7 separate regions of the Homo sapiens genome follow, and all the other regions are linked to region 7. The links are contacts of gene promoters, found by promoter capture Hi-C in blood cells and fetal thymus (Javierre and others, 2016). All regions are on one chromosome and are shown on one strand. Each heading gives the region's core, a stretch centred on a gene start or on the middle of the fragment in contact. The rest is flanking DNA. Distances are from core to core; before and after follow the strand shown.

What was found. The method cuts DNA at HindIII sites, captures the fragments that hold promoters and counts their contacts. A CHiCAGO score of 5 or more calls a contact.
Region 1: a contact is called between a fragment that was not itself captured here and the fragment with the promoter of PDPN in region 7, in 5 of 17 cell types (naive B cells, neutrophils, total CD8 T cells and 2 more). The highest score is 6.4, in naive B cells.
Region 2: a fragment that was not itself captured here is called in contact with the fragment with the promoter of PDPN in region 7 in 1 of 17 cell types (total B cells); the score reaches 7.2 in total B cells.
Region 3: a contact is called between a fragment that was not itself captured here and the fragment with the promoter of PDPN in region 7, in 1 of 17 cell types (total B cells). The highest score is 6.6, in total B cells.
Region 4: a fragment that was not itself captured here is called in contact with the fragment with the promoter of PDPN in region 7 in 1 of 17 cell types (total B cells); the score reaches 5.6 in total B cells.
Region 5: a contact is called between a fragment that was not itself captured here and the fragment with the promoter of PDPN in region 7, in 3 of 17 cell types (naive B cells, total CD8 T cells and total B cells). The highest score is 5.6, in naive B cells.
Region 6: a fragment that was not itself captured here is called in contact with the fragment with the promoter of PDPN in region 7 in 3 of 17 cell types (total CD8 T cells, naive B cells and activated CD4 T cells); the score reaches 6.7 in total CD8 T cells.

The regions. Positions count from the first base shown.
Region 1 is chr1:13,902,709-13,905,408 of GRCh38, forward strand. It overlaps a transcript of KAZN not described here. Among named protein-coding and RNA genes, the nearest start is that of PRDM2, 200 kb to the left of the region's middle. The HindIII fragment of the contact is 2,554 bases long and covers 168-2,700 here.
Region 2 is chr1:13,880,666-13,883,365 of GRCh38, forward strand. No RefSeq gene overlaps it. Among named protein-coding and RNA genes, the nearest start is that of PRDM2, 180 kb to the left of the region's middle. The HindIII fragment of the contact is 620 bases long and covers 1,001-1,620 here.
Region 3 is chr1:13,944,729-13,947,428 of GRCh38, forward strand. It overlaps a transcript of KAZN not described here. Among named protein-coding and RNA genes, the nearest start is that of PRDM2, 250 kb to the left of the region's middle. RefSeq lists a silencer at 2,098-2,330. The HindIII fragment of the contact is 5,257 bases long and covers 1-2,700 here.
Region 4 is chr1:13,925,687-13,928,386 of GRCh38, forward strand. It overlaps a transcript of KAZN not described here. Among named protein-coding and RNA genes, the nearest start is that of PRDM2, 230 kb to the left of the region's middle. The HindIII fragment of the contact is 1,127 bases long and covers 888-2,014 here.
Region 5 is chr1:13,973,925-13,976,624 of GRCh38, forward strand. It overlaps a transcript of KAZN not described here. Among named protein-coding and RNA genes, the nearest start is that of PRDM2, 280 kb to the left of the region's middle. The HindIII fragment of the contact is 2,302 bases long and covers 118-2,419 here.
Region 6 is chr1:14,037,130-14,039,829 of GRCh38, forward strand. It overlaps a transcript of KAZN not described here. Among named protein-coding and RNA genes, the nearest start is that of PRDM2, 340 kb to the left of the region's middle. The HindIII fragment of the contact is 870 bases long and covers 849-1,718 here.
Region 7 is chr1:13,582,515-13,585,214 of GRCh38, forward strand. PDPN (podoplanin) reads left to right here and starts at 1,318. Exons shown (of 6, transcript NM_006474.5): 1 at 1,318-1,586. The coding sequence starts at 1,520. RefSeq lists an enhancer at 1,221-1,759. The HindIII fragment of the contact is 6,524 bases long and covers 1-2,700 here.

The sequences.
Region 1 (2,700 bases), core at 195-2,694, 320 kb after region 7:
AAGAAAAATGTTTGAGATGATGAATATTTCTCCCTATTACCCTGATTTGATCATTACACATTATATGAATGTAATGAAATATCACATGCACCCTCAAAATATGAACTATTATGTATCAATCAAAATACATAAGTAAATAAATTGAGGAAAAAGCTCTTAAACAGACAAGCTTTCCCTCCCATTCTTCCTGAATAAAATGTAATGGCTGTAGGTTTAACAAAACCTCCATGATGGTCCCCATGATATGGCCATGGGTGAGTAAGGCTCAGCCCGTGATGGGAACCACAAGGCAAGAAGCAAATGAGGTGGGTTTCCACATGGGTCAGTGGGAAACCCCAAAGCATCAGGGATTATTTGAAGTCTTAACACTGACAATGTGATGTTTGGAGTAGGGAAGATTATAAAAGTCTTGCTGTAAAATGCTTTGAAAATATAAAATTATATACTAATGATGTACTGGCATTCCCAGCCACCCATCTCTCTGGGCGATGATGTTCAGACCTTGATGAAGAACCCACTTGTGGTTTTATGGTCTTGGACCACATTTTTCTTTTGGACATTAGTTCCTTGACCAATTCAGATCACATCTGTTTTCTAAGTATGTAAGGAATGAGCTAGATGAAACAGACATGGAGTCTGGACTTTCATCTGAAAAGTAACTGCGTTTTTGTCGGCCCTTTATATCAAGCATCCTCTTTAGTGCCTGCATTTACCTTTTGTTGTCATCTACAGGGTCTAGTGCCAGTGTGGCTAGGAGGGAGACTCAGCCTCGGACCCCAAAGGGAAGGAGAGCCAGTGGGGGACTCCCATCGAAGGACAAAGACAATGTCATGATGGCGGCTGAGTGGCCAGGCTAGATTCCACTTGGCTGGACTTCCTGAAACTTGAAGTCTTCTCTTTGATCTCCCCAAAGCCATTACCAGTTACATATAGTGAAGACGAGTTAGGTCACTTAAAGAAAGAACTGGTCTGGGGACAGGAGTAAAGGGAAAAAGGGAGGAGGATGTTTTCATCTCTGCCAGGCTAGGGAATTAGAGGAGTGATGGGCAGGAGGAAGACGGCCACTGCTGGGGAGAGACTTAAAGAGATTTTGAGCAGCTCTAAGAGGGTGGTGCTCTTAGCTACTTGAAAAGACAGAAGTTTTGACCTTGATTCCATGGTGAGAAGTGAATCTGAAAAGGAATGTATGTGGTGGGTCCCTCTGAGTCCCTGGGTGACTGCAGCCCCAGTCAGGAGCACCAGAAGCAACAGGTCTCCAGGAAGGGATGCGAGCTCTAGAGAGGCATGAACCACTCCGCACAGAGACATGGTAGACTCAGAAATGTGTCAGGAAATGTGGAAAGGTCTATTTGGAGACTGAGGCAGGGTCTACAATGTCATCAGTGCTTAACATGGAGCAGTTGTCTGAAAGGCTGGGTAGAGGGATCCAAAGAAGGACTAGGGCAAGGGAGCAGAGGATGGAGGGGCAGAAGGCCGGGCGAGGAGGTGCCCTGGGATGCTGGAGGCCAGCATGCACCTTCCTCAGCACAGAGGAAATAGCCACTTCTAAGACAGGTGAAAAGGAATAGTATCTCAGGAAGGGAACCCCTCATGCCTCCTCCCTTCCATTAATAGGCAACACCCTGTGGCCTGTTAAGCAGAAAGTATTGCTGGGAGAACTCCCAGGTTGGAGAAGTTGGGTTGTAGGGATCAGGCCAGTCACAGCTGAGATGATCATCCATGATCAAGACCAATCTGCACTGGAGGCCAGGACAAGCTACAGCAAAGCCTCCACAGCTGGGTCTCTAGAATGTTTAGTTTTATTTTGGCTACTGTTACTGGATAATGTCAGCTGGATATAGATTTCTAAGTTGAGTTATTTTCTCTCAACATTTTGGAAAGGATGTTCCTCTGTTTCTGGTTCCTGCTGTTGCTGTTGGTCTTTGATTTTGGGGTCATTTCTCTGTAGGTGATCTCTCTTTTCTATGGATTTGCTTTGAAAGTCTTTGTCCTGGAAGCTCTGTAGTTTCACTACAGTGTAGCTAGGGGTAGGTCTAATTTTATTTATCCTATCTGGGGTTTGTGCTTCTCAGATCTGAGGATTTGCATCTCAGATGCAAATCATGTAACTCATGTTCAGTTACTTATTTCTTTGAACACTGATTCCCATTCTTTCTATCCCTCCTTTAGAAATTCCTTTGTGACTTGTGTTAGACTTCTCAATTTGAACTCTTTTTCATATTTTCCATCTTTGTCTCTCTGTTGCATTCTGGATAATGACTTTAAAAACTATCTTCTGGTTCATTAATTTTCTTTCTAGCTGTGTCTAATCTTCAGCTGAACTCAGGCAATTCATTTTTCATTGAATGTCTTTTTTTAACCTCTAGAAGTTCTCATTGAATAGTTTTCAAATCTCCCAGGTATTATTTTTTAAGATAATCTTTGTCTCTCTTGCTCTTGATCATATGTTTTATTTATTTAATCATTTAAAATTAATACTTATCTGATAAAGGAATTTTATAATCCAATTCTGGCACTCCTGAGTACATTTCTTCTGCTTTTCTGTTGACTCATGTCTAAGATAGCTTATTACCTCATGCACTTTGCAAGATTGGATTTTGAGCTTATTCTAGGAATTTTATCTGTGAGATGTTATTACCGTAGGTAATGTTAATTTCCAGGCTGGATATTTCCATACATTCCCTGGTAGTATAAATTTGA
Region 2 (2,700 bases), core at 61-2,560, 300 kb after region 7:
AATATGCCTGGCAAATTTTTGTATTTTTTATAGAGACAGGGTTTCACCGTGTTGTGTAGGCTGGCCTCGAACTCCTGGACTCAAGCAATCCTCCTGCCTCGGCCTCCCAAAGTGCTAGGATTACAGGCGTGAGCCACTGCATCCATTCCTGTCTATGTTTTAACTGAGTTTTTTGCCTTATTGATTTGGGGGAGTTCTTTCTATAATGAGAATATGAATCTTTTCTTGGTTATAGGTGTTACACATTTCTTTCTTTCATCAAGAGACAATAATAAGAGAGTAGAAAGACTAGTCACAGAAATGGGAGAAGTTCTTAACTTTGATATCTAATTTATCAATCTTTTCCCTAATGGTTGGTGCTTTTTGTGTCTCGTTTAAGAAGTATTGCCCGCCCACCGTTACCAGAGCCATAGAGGTATTCTCTATCACTGTCAAGAAGTTTTGTTTTGCCTGGGTGTGGTGGCTCACACCCGTAATCCCGGCACTTTGGGAGGCTGAGGTGGGTGGATCACTTGAGGTCAGGAGTTCAAGACCAGCCTGGCCAACACAGTGAAACCCCGTCTCTACTAAAAATACAAAATTAGTTGGGCGTGGTGGCGGGCGACTGTAATCCCAGCTACTCGGGAGGCTGAGGCAGGAGAATCACTTGAACCCAGGAGGCGGAGTTTGCAGTGAGCCGAGATCGCACCACTGCACTCCAAGCCTGGGTGACAGAGCAAGACTCCGTCTGGGGAAAAAAAAAAAAGTTTTGTTTTGATTTCACATTGAAATCTACAATCTGCATGTAACTCACTTCCATCTATGGTGTAAAGTGGAGGTCAACTTTCACTTTTTTTCTCCATATGAATTTCCACTTGATTGACCGCCATTAAGCATCTCCGCTGCCCTGCAGTGATGGTGTTGTCCTAATGCAATAGTGAGTCAGCTTCTGGACACTTTATTCTCATTATTGATCTCTCTGTGTATTCTTAGCCCAATACCATGCTCTCCTAACTACTGAAGCTTAATTATCTGTCTGGAGCATCTGGTGGAACAAGTCTTCATTTCTGGTGGCCTTCACCAAGAGCTTTTGGCCCTTTGCCTTTCCAGTTAAATTCTAGAATCATCTTGTCAATGTTTACAGAAAATCTGCTTAAATTTTGATCTGATTAAATGTGTAGATTAATTTGGGAGAATTGAAGTTTTTACAACATTGAGTCATCAAACTATGACTCAGTGGTGCATGTCTTCATTTGTTTAGGTTCCTTTCCTTTCTGCCCGTCTCATAGATTTCTGTAGAGTGGTCTTAAGGGCTTTTTGTTAGATTTATTCCTTGTTATTTGATATATTTTGATGTTAATGTTATAGTTTCTTAAAGTTTATTTTGTTCCACATCCAGTAATATAATTTACATTTTAACGTGTACCTTATGCTTATGTAGCAACATTGCTAAGTTTATTCTAATAATTTATCTGTATACTTTTCTTTTGGGATTTTCTACCACAATCATGCCAACTGCAAATAGTGACAATTCTATTTTTCTATTTCAAACCTCAAATCTTGTCTCTTTTACTTCCAGTATAATGTTGTATAGAAATGATGATAGTGGCCATTCTTGTCTCATTCCTCATCTTAAGAGGAAGCTTTCAATATTTCATGAATGTTGTGAAGGATGTTTTCTGTAGGCTTTTTAATACAAATTATTTATCAGATTAAAAAAATTCTCTTTATTCTTATGACACTTTTTGAGATGTGAATTAAGGTTTGGCAAAGGGACAATTTTTGTAATGTTCTCTGTGTTTTTTTTTTTTTTCTGAAGAGAATGTATACGCTGTACTTGTCAGGCACAACTGATCCATTATATATGTCTGTTAGTCAATATGTTAATTGTGTTCAATTTTTCTGTATTGCTTGCTTTTTGTTTAGTTTTTCACTTCTGGGTTTAGTTTTTTGCAGTTTGTCAATTTTTTGCTCATGTTTGGAGGCTTGTTAAATTGATCATTTTGTTATTATGAAGGATGTTTTTGATTGCTAGAACTGGGTTTTTTTTTTTTTAATTTTTAAGTCTACTTTGTCTGATAGCAACATAGTATACTAGCTTTCTTTACAATTCTTTTTTCTCTCCTTTCCTGATATCTTTTGGATTGATTATTTTTATACTCATTTTCCCTTCCTATTAGTATGGTGATTTTGTACGCTTTTATAAACTTTCAGTGGTTATACAAGAGATTGTAGTATGTATCCTCGACTTATTAATGTCTAATATAAATTAATCCTTCTATTTTTCCCTGGACAATGCAAGGACCTTAGAACATTTTAATTCCATTGTTCTTCTTTCAACTTCTAAGCTATTTTTGCTCTGTATTTTATTTCTATATATACTTTAAATCCTACAGTGTATCACTGACCTGTTAATATAAGATAAATTAATGTTAACCATTAGTAATTATGAATTCATAGTCAACATTAAGTTATATTTAATTTAGACTTAGCCACAATTAACCTTTTCACAGCTCTTTGTTCGTTTCCATGGCTCTGAGCTTCCACTTGGCTTCATTTTTCTCCTCCTTGAAGAAACTCCCTTTAGTGTCTTCTTGATGTGTCTGCTGGTATTAAATTTTCCTAGATTTCTTTGGTCTGAAAATTTCTTTATTTCACCTACATTATTGAAGGATATTTTCAATGCATATAGAGTTCCACATGGCAATTATTCTCTTTGAG
Region 3 (2,700 bases), core at 167-2,666, 360 kb after region 7:
AATGTGTAATTAAAAAGCTACTAGAGGGATAATTGTAATTAAAATACTTGATTAATCAAAAATAAGACAAGAAAAGATAAAATAAGCAACATAAAATAGTTTTGACAAGTAGAAAACAAATAGTAATATAGTTGATATAAACCTGGATATATAAATAATTATATGTAAATAGACTAGATGTTCTCAGTAACAAAGAAAAAAATCCAACACTATGAGCTTACAAGAGATATCCCTTAAATATGTGATACAGGCAGATTTACAATAAAAGGAGAGAAAGAGATATCATTGTAAACACTAATCAAAAGAAAGCTAGTGTCATTTAAAAAATATAAAACAAAGTGGACCTGAAGGTAAAAGACATTACTAGATATAAAGAGAAACATTTCATAATAATAACAATAACAGGCTCAATCCACCTGAAAGATATACTATCTGGAAGATATGAATAAAAAATTTATGTGCAGGCTGGGCGTGGTGGCTCACACCTATAATACCAGCACTTTGGGAGGTCGAGGCAGATGGATCACCTGAGGTAAGAAGTTCGAGACCAGCCTGGCCAACATGGTGAAACCCCCATCTCTACTAAAAATACAACATTAGCAGGGAATGGTGGCCCATGCCTGTAATCCCAGTTACTCGGGAAGCTGAGGCAGGAGAATCACTTGAACCTGGGAGGCGGAGGTTGCAGTGAGCTGAGATGGCACCACTGCACTCCACCCTGGGCAACAGAGGGAGAGTCCGTCTCAAAAAAAAAAAAAAAAATTAGAATTGATCAGGAATGTGAGACTCCATCTCAAAAAAAAAAAAGTTCTGTGCACTTTGCTAATATCAACTCACAATATATATATAGCAATGAATGGTAAAACTAACAGTGTACCCACAATCATAGTTGGGAATTTTAACACAGCTGTTCCATAGGATGATTTTTTTAAATGACATTTGCTCTCAGTTTGTGTGTGTGTGTGTGTGTGTGTGTGTGTGTGAGAGAGAGAGAGAGAGAGAGAGAGAATGTTTTTAAACCTAAGTCTTTAGTACATTTTTTTATGAAGCCGGTGCCTGGTAGATGGGGTGAACTGGGATATTGGAATGCTGGTTCTGGCAAGGGCCACCTGAATTGGGGAAGATGCAGTGGTGTGGTTTTCAGAACATCCGAGATGGCTCCTATGCCTGCTTCCCTTCTCTGCCCAAGTCCCTATTGCTGGACTTCTGAGGAAGCACAGTTATGGGTCTTGGTTGTTTCCAAAAAAGGCCTCTCTCCAGCACCAAGAACTGCCAGATGGCAGTGGTTAGACAATCTGGGCTTCCAAGTCCTCAGGAGAGTCACTCAGACAGATGAAACTACCTTCCTATTTTTAAATAAACCCAGAGTTAGCTTTTCTGTATTCTTTCCCTGGTCAGCAATTTCTGGTGCTTTTCTATTAAGAAATGCATTCTTTTGGCTAACCCGAATCCCTCATGTCATGATTTAAGTGCCTTTATTCTAGTATGCTTACCACAGTCTTACTGATAGAAGAGGAGAAACATCACACAGCTGCCTTCTAAAGCATGGTTTTTGTTTTCTCAATCACAGAATGCATAGAGGCGAAGAGTTGCGATTCTGGAGCCAGTCTTCCTGGGTTTCAAAACGGGATTTTCCTCTTATTATCCATGTGACCTGGGACAAATTACTTTTCCTTCTCCCCATCCATAAAATAGAAATAAAGTGAGCAATTTGAGGATTAAGAAGAATCAAGAGCACAGAAGTCTGCCGACACCGTGATCAATACTAATCATTATGGTTATACTCACTGTAGAAAATTGGGAAATTCCAGGGAGTACGAGGAAGTTTAAAAATTCCCTATGACATTGTTTCACAACTGTCCCCTGCTCCAGTACCTAGGACAATCCTTGGGATCCTTAAGAAACACTTGTTGAACTAATATTCCAAAAGGGTCATGATCACCTGCTTGTGCCCTGTAATGTGTGTCAAAGATGCTAGATGGCTAAGGTATTATGATCCTGAGGTCACCTGACACTGTCTTTATCTGTGTTACTCCGTAACCCTACTTCCTAGCACTGCACCTGAGCCCTGTAAATGATGCCTCATATTTTAATATTAGGTAGTGTATTTTCATGTGTGTGGCTGCTGTTACGAATGACCACAAACTTAGTGGCTTACAACAACAGAAATGCATTCTTTCATGGTTCTGGAAGCCGGATGTCCAAAATTAAGGTATCAGTGGGGCTGCATTCTCTCTGGAGGCTTGGGGGGAGAATCCGTTCCTTGCCTCTTCCAGCTTCTGGTGGCTGTCCCATTCCCTGACCTGTGACTGCATCCCTCTGATCTCTGCCCCCATGGTCACTGTATTAGTCTGTTTTCACACTGCTATAAAGAAGTGCCTGAGACTTGGTAATTCATAAAGGAAAGAGGTTTAATTGACACACAGTTCCTCAGGGCTGGGGAAGCCTCAGGAAACTCACGATCATGGCAGAAGGGGAAGAAGGCACATCTTGCATGGGAGCAGGTGAGAGATAATGAGCAAGAGCAGGGAAAACTGCCTTCTAAAGCCATCAGCTCTTACGGGAACTCACTCAGCAGCTTGCCTAGGGTCACTCGGGTAGCAAGAGGCAAAATCGTGAGTGGACTCAAGATGCATGTTCTCACTCATGAGAACAGCATGGGGGAAACCGCCCCCGTGATCCAATCACCTCCCACCTGGT
Region 4 (2,700 bases), core at 201-2,700, 340 kb after region 7:
AAGCTGGGAATGCAGAAGTACCTTGACTGACATACAAGTTCAAGGAGCTCTCTGGCCAGCGGTTGAAAATGGACCATAAGCACTAGAGGACAGAGGCAGAGAGTCCAGGTTGGGAAGAGTGGGTGTGACCATGAATTGGACTCAAGCACTGGGAGTTGCAAATAGAGTTGGGATCCATTTCAAAAATAGTTCTTGGAGGATTTGCTGATGATTGAAGTTGGGGAGTGAGGGCAGAAGAGTGAATGACCATGAGGGTCTCCCCTGGGTGGCCCATAGGATGGAGTGGCCATTGACTGAGATGGTAGAGACTTGGGAGGGGCACATATGGGGTGGTTGGGGGACAGAGCGTGATTTGGTTTTGATAATGGTTTCTCTCTCCCTTTGTTTTTTTTCATTTCAAAGGATCTAGTTCTCATTTGAGTCTTCACTAATGAGTCACTTCTCCTAGGAAGCTTTCACCAATTCTCTCCCAAACTGAGTTGGGGTCTTGCTGACTCCGACAGCACTTCATGCTTCCCTATGCCCTGGCTCACCGTGCTGTTACTACCCAGAGTGGGCAGGACTAGGACACACCAGGCTGGCTGTCTGCCCTGGCTGGCTGAGACCACCAGTGAACACTGCACCTCCCTGCTGGGAGAATAGGGGCTCACTCTTAGTGTGGTGGCAACTCTGCCTATGTGAGCTGGAGGTGCTTTCTTTTCTTACCCTGAAATTTTCGAATTCCATGTTTAGGACAAGAATGAAGCAATGAACAGTCTCCACTTGTGTTTCTGAGTCACCCGATGGCTTCCTCCCACATTTCCCCTGCCTTTTCCCTATTTTCAAGTCCCCTTTGCACAAAGGCATGTACACGTGTAGCCAGTGACATTGGGTCCTGATTACAGTGAAGCTTACAGGTCCTTGTTATTAATGAGTAAAAATAACCAGGCAATGAAAATAAGAAAGGAAGATTTATCTTTAAGAGTTAAAAAAAAAAAAAAAATCTCCTGGGAACTTCAGTGCATGACAGCCATAAATGGCTGTAAATTTTCCCAAGCACAAATCAGTATCTTAAGGTGACAAAATGCTGGCTGGAGTGACATATCATATTTGATACTGGGGTGACAGTTAAAATAGCATCCTCCATATTTGCTATTTTTCCAAGTTAGGGCTTCAAAGGGAATAGCTAGGGAGACAAGAAACATTTATCATCTATGATTTTTGCTCCCTTTCAAAGGTTAACCTTGCTATGGTGCTCAAAGAAAAAAACCTGCAAAAATATGTGTTTTAAATATGCATTTGTCGTAAAGTGCCTAAAATCCCATGTCACTCGGCCCTTTGTTTTCCATGAAAACCCTCATGCAAGATTCTGTCATTGTAGCGTGGCAGCTATGCTAAAAAAGAGATGTCACATTTTCAGTTTCATCAAGCAGGATTCTTGTTTTTGTGTGTGACCCAATTTCCGTGTTCTATAAAGCCCTTTCAGAAATCTTTTAAGATCATAATAATGCAGTCCTGGGTTTTGTTAATAGAAGTACAATATCAAGGTGCCTGTGTCTTCCCTGGAATGAACCTGGTCCTAGTGCAGTTGGAGAAGAAAGACACTGAGGAACTAGAAGGTCACACAGGGACCCTGAAGCAGGTTTGGAAGACTTTCTGTATAAAACAGAGCTGAGCACAGTGGGGCATTACAGAGAGGGCTTAAAATGGGGCCTGGGAGCTGTTTACAGACACCTAAAAGGGTTTGAGCAGGAGGAAGTATTTTTTTCTGCTCATCACATCAGAAGACAAGGTTAGGAATAGCTGGGCAAAGAACCATCAGAGGTGGGTTAGGAGTTTGGTCTGTGTCCCAGGCAGACCTATGTCCAAATCCCAACTTCACTTTTATCCACTTTGGACCTATGTTCAAATCCCAATGGTACTGTTGCATTCTTTGATTCAGTGGCTCTTGGTGGAGGATCTCTTTTGAGCCAGGCATGTTTTTAGGCATGGAAAATACAGTGGATGCAGGATGGAGAAGTTTCCTGCCCCAAGAAGCTTGCATCTTAGTGGGAATCCAAAAGCTAGATCCATATTCTGATATTTAGAAGGTCGCATAGCAACTGAAACAGAGAGGAAACTGGATGTGTGGAGCGGAAGAGACACAAGTACAGGGTGCTCAGAGGCTGCCCTGCAAGGGGCCACATTTGGGCTGAGACCTGAGTGATGGAAAAGATATGGTCACATGAACATCAAGGAGGAGGGCATCCCAGGCAGGGGCAGGGCCCCTGCAAAGATTCTATGGTGGGAACAAGCCTGGCAGTGGGTTCAAGGAACAGAAAAGAGAGCCGAGTCAATGGCAGAGGTGAAATTCCAGCTTGGCTCCATCCAATTTCAGAGCTGAAACTGTTAACCACAGAGCTAAGCTACACATACTGGAGGAAGCAGAGGGTGTGTTTGTATGCAGTGGTCAGAAATTTCATTGCTCAGGTTTTGCGGAGAAGATCAGGTTCCTGTAAACTAATAGCCTGTGACTTTAAAAATGTGCCATACCTGGGGTTCTCCTGAAAGTGCTTTCTCATATAGTTAAGAAACTTGGGTGGAGATCCCGTTGTGTTACTTCCTTTTGCTGGGTCCTTCTGGATCATGTATGATGATGATGATGACAGTGGTGACATTGATGATGACAACTGTAACCATAGTAACAGCTTCTCTGAGAACTTGTTATATACCTGGCACTCT
Region 5 (2,700 bases), core at 19-2,518, 390 kb after region 7:
GGAGGATTCCTAAGACTATGCATATCGTCATACTCACAGCTAGGACTAGGATGATCCAAGGCAAAATCAGCCAAAGAAAGAGATGCATGGGGCAAAGTCTGGTGGAAACCAGGCACAAGCTTCCAGGAGCTTCGCTCAGGGGAGTCACATGGGATGTGTGTCAATCCTCCAACACTGGATTGTGACAATGTGTGTGAAATGTTATCAAACCAGGAATTTGTAAGAGATTCACTGCCAGTGTTTTTAATGGGGGCTGGTTATGTAGATCTTCTCTGCCTAGCATGTACCAAAACTCCAGACCCAGAAGAACAAGCAGCTGCCTAGAATAAACCACATTGTACAAACAATCTAGGCATAATGGGCCACTCTTATCATTTAGGGAAAGTTTATATCAGTGTAGGGAACTGTTTAAGATGTAAGTTGGCAGATACCAGCTGTAGTGAGTTGAAAAATGGTGCCTTTAAAGATCTGCCCACATCGAATTCTCAGAAGCTGTGAATGTGGCCTTATTTGGACAAGGGTCTTTGCAGATGTAATTAATTAAGGATCTTGGGATGAAGACATCATCCTGGATTATCTGGGTGGGACCTAAATCCAGTGACAAGTGTCCTCATAAGAGACAAGTATCCCTTATAAGGAACAATTTGGCAGACAGAAGAGGAGAAGACAATGTGACCATGGAGGCTGAGATGGGAATGCTGCTGCCACAAGTCAAGGAATGCCTGGGGTTGCCAAAAGCTGAAAGAGGCAAGGGACAGTTTCTCCCCTAGAGCTCCCTGAGGAAGCAAAGGAAGCAAGGTCCTGCTGGATTTGGGATTTCCAGCCTCCAGAACGGTGTGGGAGTCAATTTCTGTTATTTTAAGCCACCTATTTTGTGGCAGTTTGTAATGGCAGCCCCAGAAAACCACTACACCAGCCAAGGGCCAACCTTGTAAACCTTAGATACCCTGGAGGTCTCACACAGACCTTCAAGACTGCTTTGTTAACTCTTTTTTATATCCGCCCTTTCCCTACAGTGTAATTTGCTATCAGATGATCTATTTATTTTTATAGCACTTTTCTTATCCTAATTATGTTGTTTTCTAGTTGTTCATTTAACATGTATTTATTGATCACTTTCCATGTTCTAGGCACTGTGCTGGATTTTGGGTGTAGAGTGATAAGAACAGATGGGGACTCTGCTCTTAGAGATTTTACGTTGAGAGCCTACAGTAGGAAGACAGATCATAGAGTGTGTCAGGGTGGTGGCTGAGTCAGCTGCCCACCCCTGCCTCCACATGTATTTGGATCGAATTTGGCACTTTCTGTCATTACTCAGAAGGCAGGAGTGGGGCCTGGGGAGGCCTTTGATTGTGAGGCACTTCAAGGCCACTGTTCAGAACACTTGGTTACTTCATCACAGCCCATACCAAGCATATAAAAAAGGTCTCTTTATTCTAAGAGTATCTTTGAGTGAGAAAGGAGCTTCAGATATCAGTGGGCTGAGAGGTGATGCTTCAGAGGCTCGACTCTTTCCTCTGCACTTAGAACCATGTGTAGCGGAAAAGAGCTGCATGTGCCTAATTTGCAACTTGAAACACAATTGGACTTTCTCTATGTATTTGTTTATCATATGTCTGTTAAATTATAGCTACCCAAACATGCTCTTGAGTCCCCAGTGCTGAGTAAAAACTTAGAACAGAATAGATACTCATCAAATATTGATCAAATGAGTGGATGAATGAGCCATACATTTCCTTAAACAAAACTTAACACACCGGCAGGTAGATAGTATTGACTCAATTGTCTCCCCTACCAGATCATGAACTAGTCGGGAACACGAGTCACGTCATGATGTTTTTTGTGGTCCTGGCACATTGATGGGGTCAGTCAAGGCTTGCTGAATGAATGAATGAATGAATGAATCAAAAGGAATAAATATGAGTACACGCATAGTAAACCCAGCTTCTGAAAGGTGTTTTGATGAAAAAGTAAAGCAACATTTCTCAGAGTGCTTTGGAAGTCTCTCCTAGATTTAGGCCACTTTTCCTCTGTGTTTTTGGTGTCTAGGACAATTAATTTTGTTCAGTCCATTGCACCCTGCCTTGAATTCAGATGCCTGGGTGATTTTTCTAAAACTTTGGCTGTTTATCTTGTGAGGCTGGTTCTTCCATTAATATACCCCATCTGTTCTGCTCTCCAAATAATGTCTTCGTGAGAATTCTTAAAGTTGGCCTCTAGAATCCTTAGTTTTCAGATGATTTTTCCATTTACAATAATGACCATTCTGTCTAATTTTTATTCTTAATATTTTCTGATGGACTTTCCAAATGCATCCATGCTTTTGATTTTCAAAGAGAGCAAATGGGAAATCGACTAATAAAAATCTGTAATGTAACGGTTTTAATAAGTCAATCTGTCCTTTGCTGTCATAGAACCAAGCTTCCATTTCACTGTTCAAGAACTCATCAGATGAAATGACCTCCTTGTCAAGAAAAATTACTCCATATGGTAATGTAATCACAAAGGAGAAACATTATTTCCCTATATATTATTCCCCGCAGAAATTGCAGTAAGAAAGCCATCATATTAAAAATATCTAGGATGCTGAGGTTCCTGTTTGCCAGCCTGATGGAGTTCATTTTCTTTATAGGAGAGGCAAACTCAGTTCTCATTGGCAGCATTTTATTTTAAAGGTTCATTAGGCAATTGTACATTACA
Region 6 (2,700 bases), core at 34-2,533, 450 kb after region 7:
TGGGATTATTTTATAGCCCACTTTTTCCACTGAATACATCATAGACCTCTCTCCATGCCAGTAAATACAGTTCTACAATACTAGTTTTAATGGCTACATGGCAGTTCCTTGTTAAGATGCATGATCATTTATTTATCCAGCTGCCTATTGCTAGACATTCCATTTGCATGACAGGCTGCCCTCTCCGTTTGCCCTTACTCAAAGTGTTTGCCTCTTACCTCTCTAAATTCACCTAAAGCTATCCCCTACCAGTGTAGAAACAGCATTTCTGATGCTTTCGTATAAAGCGGAGAAATCTCTGCACTGACTCTTGTCTGAAGCTATTCTTCCTTTCTGTTGATTCTGTCTTACCTCCCTTGTTGGTCAGTGGAGGAATAGGGACCAAATTTAGAACCCTGAGTCCTGATGTGCACAGCCCAGCTCCTCAGGCAGCAGCTATCGTGTGGCTTGCGGGGAGAAAGAACCTTTGATTTAGAAGTATCTGTTCCTCTCCTCCAGCTGTTTTCAAGAACTCCAGCACAGAAGCAGCTGTCAGCATGTCACAGTAAATTTGGCTTGGTGGCAGCCTGGTCACAAATAAGCTGCCTACATCATGAAGAAATGGGGTTCAATTAAGCCTCTGAAGTCTCCCAGCCGTGCTGCCTGAGTTGGTTTCTTCATTTGTGTCCACACCCTGCAGACTTTGGCTGAGTAGAATAGTGTTTCTGCACCAGTGGGTTTGTTTAGGCTGCTCTCTAATGGGCCCATGCTTTACTAAAAGCCTAGGACGCATTGCTTGCCTGCACTGGTGCATATGTAGAACCCTGAAAGCTTTGGGTTTTAGGGGGTGAGAGGCTGGCTACCTGCAAAGCTTAAGGAAGGGATTAAATTCACTCAACCACCCACCTGTCCATCCATCCATCTGTCCACCCATCTATTCATCCATTCATCCATCCATCCACTTATTTATTTGTTCAGTAAGGTTTGTTGGGCACCTCCTATATGCCAGGCTCTGTTTTAGGCACCTAGGACCCTCAGTGAACAAAAGTGACAAGCAATACTCTATGAGCACAAGTAAGTTACATAGTATTTAGAAGGTACTAAAGGATATGAGTAAAGCAGAGCAGGAAAGGGATCTGGGGGTCTGGGTGGGGCAGGTGCAGTTGTGATTTTAAGTAGGGTGGTGAGGTCAGACATCATTGAGAAGTTAACCCTTGAGGGATGATTCGGAGAGTGAAGAAGTTAGCCATATGGTTCTCTGGAGGGAGAAAGTTGCAGACAAAGGGAGCCCCCAGGTCAAAGGCCTTATGCAGGAACATCCTGCACATTTAAAGGACAGCACCTGGGACAGGTGACCTCAGAAGAATAAGCCTGGGGGAGAGCAAAAGGAAATGAGGTCTGAGGGCAGGGCTCCAGGTTGCCCTCCTTTTCAATATACCTTTCACTGTAGGACTGCAATTGGGTCATGAAAGTGGGATGCTGGGAGCTGAGCGACAACCATAGACACCAGTGCCTTCCTCCCTGGGCTCCACTGAAGAGAGTCCTCGGGAGGGGTGCAGGGTCTCTGCCTTTCAAAGGACACAGGAAACCTTGCCTTAGGTCATACCTGTGATGAAGCTGCAGGGGGTTCAGGAATCCATGGAAGCAGTGCAAAGCGAAGCATGGAGTTGAAAATGAGATAAATAGATTTGGGTGTGAATCCGTTTTTCCAATTCCCTTTACAAATAACTCACTCTCTAAGCTTCAGTTTCACCTCTGTAAAAGTAGGGATTAAAGGCCAGGCGCAGTGGCTCATGCCTGTAATCCCAGCACTTTGGGAGGCTGAGGCAGGTGGATCATGAGGTCAGGAGATTGAGACCATCCTGGCCAACAAGGTGAAATGCCATTTCTACTAAAAATACACACACAAAAAATTAGCTGGGCATGGTGGTGTGTGCCTGTAATCCCAGCTACTCGGGAGGCTAAGGCAAGAGAATCACTTGAACCAGGGAGTAGGAGGTTGCAGTGAGCCAAGATCGTGCCACTGCACTCCAGCCTGGCGTCAGAGTGAGACTCTGTCTCAAAAAAAAAAAAAAAAAAAGTAGGAATTAAAGTAATAGCTATTTGAGAACAACGTATCTAACCCTGAAATTAAGTTGCCTGCTTCCAGACAAGATGGTAAATTGCAGAGCCAAGACTTCCACTCTCTACGTCTGCCTCCACGGTCTCCCTATGAGCTGCCCTCTTATCAAGGCATACAGCAAGGACCAAGTCAACCAATAAAGTGTTTGAAAGAGGCTGGCAAATTGTCAAGTGCTGTATCGATGCACTTTGTCATTGTTATTAAAGATGGGACTTGGGGTTAAGTTCTGAGACGACCCTAACATCTAGCAATGCAAGATTGTCCACATGAGTCGGCAGTGGGCTTTGAGTGACAGCTGAAAATTCTGCTGCTGAAGGTCACGGTAGAGCTTGGCAGGGCTGAGCATGGTTAATAGATTTGATCATCATGTTTTATATTTAAAACTTTTATTTACACAGTATAGTTTAGCAATCGCTGCTGCCTGAGCATTTTACTAATTGATTTATGTTAACTTCCATGCATGCTGTTGATCAATATAAACAGCCTTGTAGTGTTGCATCCTTGGAGATTTAGAGAAAACCCTGACATTCATGCACTCAGTATGCTGGGCGACCTCTCCAGCCCTCTTCCACAGGGGAAAGGAGCACAGATAACTGTGG
Region 7 (2,700 bases), core at 68-2,567:
GACGTTACCTGGGAGATCTTTAGAAATGCAGAATCTCTCCCTATCCCACAACAGAATTGCACCTGCATAACCAGTGCCCCAGGTAGATCTGGCTGAGAAGCTATGATGAAGGGCAAGGTTTGCCAAATGTTCATGGGGACAAGTTCTCCAGCGACACTGGTTTAAAATAGGAATTCCGAAAAGGTCTGATTAATGAGTTTGGGGTGGAACCCAGGAAACTGGGCATTTATTTAAAACAATCTCTCCTGTGATTCTTAGAAAGTAAATTTATAATGGGGAGGGGTCAAAGATAAGCATCTGAAAACAATTTTCACGCAATGTGGAGCTTTGAGACAGCGTTAGTCTTCAGGTTCTTTTGTTGAATGGAATTTGTGGCATCTGGGAGTGGAGCAGAGACCACTTCCCAAACTCCTGTTCTTATTTTTTTAAATTCCAGCAATTCAGAAGGAATTAAAGTAAAAGACGTAAGTTCTCTGGTTGCTGATATCTGGTACCTGAGATCAAGGCAAGATCGCTTAAACCAGTAAAGTGAGGATTATGGGAGCAAACTCAGGAATAAAGAGGGTGAACCAGGCCTGGAAGGGGACACAGGTTTGGCGACCAGACGGGTCACCGCTTGGCCCGGCCTAATCCAACTGCGCACGTCGGTGGGCCACAGCATCGCAGCGCTGGATCCCCGGGTCGGCAGAGGCGGATGGAGTTCAGCCTCTTTTTCAAAACTGCCAAAGCCACCCGGTCTGCCAAACTCCCCCACCAGCCAGCTCTGGGGCAGCCCCCCGGAGCCCGCCCGCTCCGGTCCCCGGGACAAGGGCGCAATTGACCAGCGCGGGCCGCCTCTGGCCCACCCAGATGACGGCCAACTTTTTTTGTTTTTAAGCCATCAAATTCAATATTTACAGGAAAAACCCCATGCTTGGTTCTAAAACTACTGGCCACTCAAGAAACAGTTTACTTCTCACTTCTGCCCATAACAAGAAAAACATAGACTTGTGCCTTACTCTTAAAAAAATAATAATAATAAATATAGGTTTTTTAAAATTTATATATAATTTTTAAAACCCCGTTTGTTGCATGTGGTCCCTTTCCCTCCTGTTGTTGAGCAGAATAAAAGCCCATTTTGCCAGGGCCCGCAGTCCTGGCGGCCCCCGCAGCTGCGGCCCTGTAACTTTAAACCTGGCCTGAGATCATCGTTTTGGCGCCGGCCAAACAGAGCCCGAGGGCGGGCCTAGCGCGCCCGGACGGAGACCACCTTGCGGCCGACCCCGCTCCCCCGCCTCCTCGGGAGAGATAAATGCTGACTCCGCTCGGAAAGTTCTCAACTGCAAAGTTTGCTGTCCGGCTGCCTAGGGTCTGGGAAGCTCGGGCACCCTCCCTCTCCGGGGCTCCTGCTCCCACCCCTCCGGCCCCCCCACCGTCGCGCTCCTCCAGGCTGGGCCTGTGGCCGCGGTGCTTTTTAATTTTCCCCCAGCTCAGAATCTTGCTGCTCGGCCCCCAGGAGAGCAACAACTCAACGGGAACGATGTGGAAGGTGTCAGCTCTGCTCTTCGTTTTGGGAAGCGCGTCGCTCTGGGTCCTGGCAGAAGGAGGTAAGACCCAGCGCAAGTGGCTTCCTGCCGTCGCTGATGGGGACGAGCGAGCAGAGACTTGCTGGAATGCCCGGGCCTGGTATTCGAGGTTGTCCAGGGGAGCGCGGGGGAGCTGAGGGTGTGTGCGTGTCAGGCGGCTGAGCGCCGGAGGAGGAGAGGCAGCGGCTTAGTCGGTGCCAGGTCCCAAAGACGCAGCTGCGCGGGTGTGCCGGGAGGAGCCCCGGAATCCACAGGCTGCGAGGTGGGCAGCACAGGGGGCCTCCCTCCGAGTCGGCAGCACCAGAGAGATCGGGTGGAAGGTTCACAGTAGGCAGCCCCGCTTGCTGGCAGCAGTGGCTGGGGTTTCCTTCCCATAGAGCGGTGTGTTGGAGGAATACGCACGCCTCGGGAGAAGCTGGCCTCGTAGAATCAGGAGGGACGTTCAGGAGGGCTTGGGCCAAGGGGAGGGTTCCCCGCCCTGCGGTGGCCCTGGTCCCCCTTGGGACTACCTAGTCTGGCGCCCTGCCTGTTGGACACACTCAGCACCCCGTCACTGGACTGGAAGAGGCCTCCTTTATCCTCTTTAGAGAGGATAGTGTGTGTGGAAAGGATCCAAGTGGAGGCTTCCGAGGAGTGTGAGTGCATGAGGATTGTTACGCGTTACGAACATTGAGGTTTAAGTGGGTTTGAGCCACGTGTTCATCTTGGGCAACAACATCAGTGGCTGAATGTCTGTTGGTGACTCCTTAGGCTTTAAATATTTTGTATCCCATGTTGGGGTGGGGGCGTCCACAGCTTCCATTACCCTTTGTCCTCTCCTGGAGCCTTACCTCTTCCCGCTGGGTTGCTGTGTTGGTGGTCTCCATTGACATCTGTCAACATTTTGTTTTCTTTTCTTGGGTTTTTATTTTTATATTTCCTCAATAGAACATATGTTCTGCAGGACGCAGCTACATCCAGCCATGATTCCCCACGGCCAAAACAATGCCTGGCACATAGTAGTTGCTCACTAAATGTTGGTTGAAGGAATTGTAACCTAACTCGTGATCTTTGGGGCTGGAGGTTGCTGAGTTATGCTGTGAAAAGTAAACATTTTCCAAAAATTGAGGATCAAGGTAGGCCTAGGCCCTGAGGA